Regions from separate parts of the Homo sapiens genome. Here region 1 is linked to region 2. Evidence: promoter capture Hi-C in 16 types of primary human blood cells and fetal thymus (Javierre and others, 2016). All regions are on one chromosome and are shown on one strand. Each heading gives the region's core, a stretch centred on a gene start or on the middle of the fragment in contact. The rest is flanking DNA. Distances are from core to core; before and after follow the strand shown. Region 1 has its middle 84 kb from the start of SLC25A26. Region 2 holds the start of MAGI1-AS1 (MAGI1 antisense RNA 1).

Region 1 (2,860 bases), core at 201-2,700, 240 kb before region 2:
CTGGAGTGTGATGTGTCTGAAGGGGGGTGAGATTTGTGGGATGATTTTTTTCTTCCTTCATTGCATATTTCCATACTTCAGATGTATACATTGTATACGATGTATACATTGAACAGCTTTGATCACCATAGGAAAAATAAAACATTATAAATGCCCATGTTTATTTTACGTGTTCACATGCAATACTCTCTGTTTAATAATGCCATAGAAAATGTTCATGTGGGCCGATCATGGTGGCTCATGCCTGTAATCCCAGCACTTTGGGAGGCTGAGGCGGGTGGATCACTTGAGGTCAGGAGTTCGAGACCAACCTGGCCAACATAGTGAAACCCCGTCTCTACTAAAAATACAAAAATTAGCTGGGTGTGGTAATGCACGCCTGTAATCCCAGCTGCTCTGGAGGCTGAGGTGGGAGAATCGCTTGAACCTGGGAGGCAGAGGTGGCAGAGAGCCAAGATTGGGCTACTGCACTCCAGCCTGGGTGACAGAGCGACACTGTCTCAAAAAACAAAAAAAAGAAAAAAGAAAATGTTCATGTGACTATACTAACTAGCTTTGCAAAGGAAAGAAGAAAACAAGCTCTTATGGAGTCCTAGGTGCTAGGAACTGTATTAGGAGTTGGGGGATAACAAGATGAGTTAGACACACTCTGACCTCAGGAAGCTCACAGTCACACAGAGCATCTTATTCCCTTCTCACAATGACTCTATGAGTGTCTTAGGCCATTCCTGCTGGTCTCACAAAATACCACCAACTAGGTAATTCATAAACTATAGAATTTTTTTTCTCACAGTTCTGCAGGTTGGGATGTTCAAGATCATAGTGTGGGGCTGGGTGTGGTTGTTCATGCCTGTAATCCCAGCACTTTGGGAGGCCAAGGATGGTGGATCCCCTGTGGTCAGGAGTTTGAGACCATCTTGGCCAACATGGTGAAACCCTGTCTCTACTAAAAATACAAGAAATTACCCAGGCCTGGTGGCAGGCCCCTGTAATCCCAGCTACTCGGGAGGCTGAGGCAGAAGAATTGCTTGAACCTGGGAGGCAGAGGTTGCAGTGAGCAGAGTTTGAGATCGCGCCATTGCACTCCAGCTCGGGCGACAAGAGCAAAACTCCATCTCAAAAAAAAAAAAAAAAAAAAGAAAGAAAATCACAGCATAGGTAGATTTGGTGTTTGGTGAAGGTCTGTTCCATAGATGGTGATTTCTCATGGCATCCTCACATGGTGGAAAAGGTGGCAGGAAAGAGCTCACATCTATTAGTCAAGCTATTTAATTAATGATTTCCTTTATCTCAACTGATTTTTAACTGAACTTTATTTTAAAAGAAGCTTTGTGCTATTATCATAAATGCAAATCAGAATTATTTTCAATAAATAAGAGATAACCATAAAGTAAGCAAAATAAAAACAAAAATTTATATACTATTGTTGAGGAAGCTCCAACTCTCTTTGTTAAGCTCTCTCTTTGTTATGAAAGGGAGACTAGCAAGTATGAGAGGGACATAGCACCTCACTGAGGCTTTCTTCTTGAAATAAACAGAAGGTCTTAACAAGTCCTGAAAGGGAAAAGCTTTGTATACAATTTAATGCATACTGTAAATGACATGGAGGCTTTGAAAACACAGTACTACTTGATGCAAAGCCAAGAGAAATATCCCAGTCAAAGCAGAAGAGAGAAACCTAGCGGCTGAAAGCCAGAGCTTAGGTGAAAGAATGTATAAATCAAATTTCACTACCATGATTGTTTTGGAAATATAAGCATCAACTGGAACATGAAACTAAAAGCCATCTTTTAAAATACAAAAATGTTATTTCTTAGTGACGAGACAGTGCAATGAGTTAGAATACCATTTTAGAAATGAAATAGACATGGATTCAAATCCAGCTAAGCTATTTATTACATGCTCACCCTGTTTTTCTCCAAACTTCAATGTCTTCATCTATAGGCCAATGGAGAGTGATAAGTAGTTTTTAATTATAAACTGGCCATTTGTGTATCTTAGGTTAAAGGATAATTTTCCCAAAAAGGTAAAATCATGACTATCATATAGACATAAAATGAACATCTGGAATACATTTTATTTAACTCATTACTAATGAGTGAACCACCGAAATGTTATCATTCATTCAAAGGAGAAGTCCAACAGCAGATACATATATAGATGGGAACACTGAAATAAATTTGCAAGTAGACACAAAACTGTTTATTTCCACAATAAGAGAGGAAAATCAGTTGACTGTCCGCAGGACAGAATTTCCTTGCATGATTATGAACAAGAAATATTTGCATTACTATTAGTTTTATCATCAATTTCTGAATTGTTGTGATCAATACAGAAATCTATAGTAAAACACTTTTCAAGTTAACTTCTATCTCAACAGACTTGTAAAATAGCTTAGCCAAAGACCAAGATGTATATCCCTGTAGGATTACGTGGTCTCTAAAGACAGGTATTTCATTGAAAGAATATCCAATGTGAATATTCCAAAAGAATATCTCTTTTATTTATTCCAAAGTCTTAAATTTTGCCTTATACTTATGTTAAGACTGGATCTGTAAAACTTACCTTTTTACTTTATTTTTTTATTGAGACAGGGTTTTGCTCTGTTACCCAGGCTGGAGTGCAGTGGTGCCATCAGGGCTCACTGAAGCCTCAACCTCCCAGGCTCAAGAGAGATCCTCCCACTTTAGCCTCCCAAGTAGCTGAGATTACAAGTACATGCCACCATGCCCACCTAATTTTTTATTTTTGGTAAAGAATAGGTCTCACTTTGTTGCCCAGTCTGGTCTCAAACTCGTGAGCTCAAGCAATCTACCTGCCTTGGCCTCCCAAAGTGCTTAGAATACAGGCATGAGCCACT
Region 2 (2,700 bases), core at 157-2,656:
AAGAAGACACATTTGTTAAAGAAGTACAGTTGCCTTTATGTCTGGCATTTTAGTTAACCAGTAGCAAAATAAAGGACTGATGGATTTATTATCAGATTATGCCCAACCATGCACATATTGCCAAGTCCTCCATGAACATCACAGATATCTAAAATAAAAGAGACGTTTTTATTTGTTTTAATAAATAACATTAGCTAGCACCTCCGTTTCCAACCATTCAGTCCTGTTTGGAAATGCCACAGTGATGGGTGTGTGTTATTTTGAACTCATGTGAAGGTTCCATGACAACGGTAAACATTCATATTGCACATTTTCATAAGGCAGTGAATCTGGATGAGGCAAGTGGCCTCAGCCGGCAATAAAGATGTGTTATGAAATTTCCCATGCCAGAAGAGACACTCATAGCTGGGATTGGCCTTTTCAAAAGCAGTTGATGGTGATGAGTGATAACTCCCCTTTTAGTTTTGGCATCAGATGGAGTTTGTAGCTCATTGGCTTCATTGTGTTGCCTGGGTATCTCCTATTTAGACTTAATTGGATGGTTTGCACCACTGTCCTAGGTGGTTGCTAGTCTTTTCAAGGACTATCCTTACTGAATACTCTTGGTATTGTATTTCTCTTTTCTTACACGAATCCTCAATTACAACAACAAAGAAAATGCTAACATTTGACATCACTGGTAAACTAAGAATGCTTTAGATTAGGATTTCCATTTGCTGCCTTTCCAAATTTGATAATTTATATTTGGATATCCTTTTAGCATATTTTTGGTGGAATGGTTCACTTTATTATTATTTTTAAAAGATGGATGTGTCCTAGCTTTCACCAAGGAACAACTCAGTTTAGATGGAATGTTTTATAAATATGATGTAATGGAAATTGAACAGGATTTGGAGTCACAAGGGCCTGTGTTGGCATCTTAGTGCCATTATTTATTGTGTGACCTTGGGCAATCACATAGCCTTTCTGAACTTCCATTTTCTCACTAGTAGGTAGGGATGATATTATTGATTGTTATTTAGGGGTTGTGGCAGAAATTATGCTGTTCTTACAACTTTGAGATTCTTTCCATAGGGAGGCGGGTAGTGATGTCTCGTTCCTTCTTTTTGTATGGAGGGGTGGCCATGTGATTATGGTGGAGCAGTGCTGTGAGACTTCCAAGATAGGGTCATAAAAGGTGGTATAGCTTCTACCTGGTTCTTTTGGGACACTTGACTTTGGAAACCAGCTAGGAGGCTGCAGGGGAGCTCAAGGAGCCAAATGGTGAGGCCACATCCAAGTGTTCCAGGGGAGGTGAAACACACCTGAGGTTTCAGATGATTCTAGCCCTGGGCCATTGAGTTGCCTGCAGTCTTCCCAGTGTAAGATTCAGACATCAGGAAGCAGAGACAAGCATTTCAGCTGTGCTTTGTACAAATTCCTGACTCACAGAAATTGTGAAAGATAATAAAATGATTGTTGTTAGTTTAAGCCGTTATATTTTGGGATGATTTATTACGCAGCAGTAGATAATTGTAATAAAGAAATCATGAATTCAAATAGTAGTTCTTCTTCTAATTTTGCATACTGTCTTTACCACTTAGTAACTGTGTAACCTGGGGCAAAATTTGTAATTTCTTTGTGTCTGTTTTCTTAATTGTAAATGGGACTCGCGTAATTCCCTCTGGACTTCTGATGAGAATTAGTGATTTAATACTTGATACGCTCAATAAATGTTGCTTGTCATTATTTTCTATTAAACTATATTGTTGGATTTTTGAGAATGCATGAAGAAACTTAACGTTAATTGTGTTTTGATTTTTAAAGGCGTTATGTAAATTTTGTTTTGTGCTTTTCTCCAGGCAAGAAACCGGTTTGAATGTAATTTTCATGAAATGAAAAAAAAAAAGAAAAATGAATAGTAAATCTGATGTTAGTATCTGCCATTTATTTCACATTTTTTTTTCTGAGGTTGTATATGTCTGGGAACCTTTGGCTTTGCTTGGTAGAAAGAGGACTAATGACTCCAATTAGAGGACATCAGTAGAGAAGAAGGGATGAAGGATGGGAGATAGGAAAGAAATCTTATTTTCAGTAACTTATGTGCCAGAAACTGCACTGTAGCCTTTTACCAGTGTAGCCTTCTTAGATACTCTGAGAGAGATAATAAGAGAAGAATGGATTGTTACTTAATTTTTATCGTCCCTGAAATTGAGGTTGTTAGTGTCCTTCTCTGGTGTGTTACCTGGGGAAAGGAACAATGATTGCAGTTTTACTTTCAGGCTAAAAGCTACAAATCTGAGCTCACATTTCTGTTTGTTTCTGCCTCTGACCCTGGGTGGCTTTGTGACCTCTCTAAGCCTCAGTTTCTTCAGTTGTCAAATGGGTCTAATAGTGTTTCCTATTTCCTGTCATTGTTAAAGAAGAGCCCATGAGAATCTGTTTCCTAACCTAGCTTGGTCATAAGAATGATTGTAATGCATTTTTTAAAATAATGGGACCCATCCCAGAGCTACAGAATTAGAATTTCCAGGGATTCTGTGATTAAGTGCCCCAGGTAAGTCTTACTGTTAGGCTGATTTGGGAGACATTAAAACAATGTGTAAAGTTGAACAGTTAACACCTAATACATAAATGTTAGCTGCTGTTATAATTATACTTAACATTAATTTAATGTTTTAGGTAAGTTCTTTTATATACGTTCTTTAGATTTGCTTTGGT

Evidence for each region. The method cuts DNA at HindIII sites, captures the fragments that hold promoters and counts their contacts. A CHiCAGO score of 5 or more calls a contact.
Region 1: a contact is called between a fragment that was not itself captured here and the fragment with the promoter of MAGI1-AS1 in region 2, in 1 of 17 cell types (endothelial precursors). The highest score is 7.5, in endothelial precursors.

Annotation. Positions count from the first base shown.
Region 1 is chr3:66,135,496-66,138,355 of GRCh38, reverse strand. It overlaps a transcript of SLC25A26 not described here. Among named protein-coding and RNA genes, the nearest start is that of SLC25A26, 84 kb to the left of the region's middle. The HindIII fragment of the contact is 241 bases long and covers 1,330-1,570 here.
Region 2 is chr3:65,892,522-65,895,221 of GRCh38, reverse strand. MAGI1-AS1 (MAGI1 antisense RNA 1) reads right to left here and starts at 1,406. Exons shown (of 3, transcript NR_046575.1): 1 at 1,305-1,406. All of the region lies in intron 1 of MAGI1 (membrane associated guanylate kinase, WW and PDZ domain containing 1), which reads left to right. The region is part of intron 2 of MAGI1-IT1 (MAGI1 intronic transcript 1); the gene reads left to right. The HindIII fragment of the contact is 9,353 bases long and covers 1-2,700 here.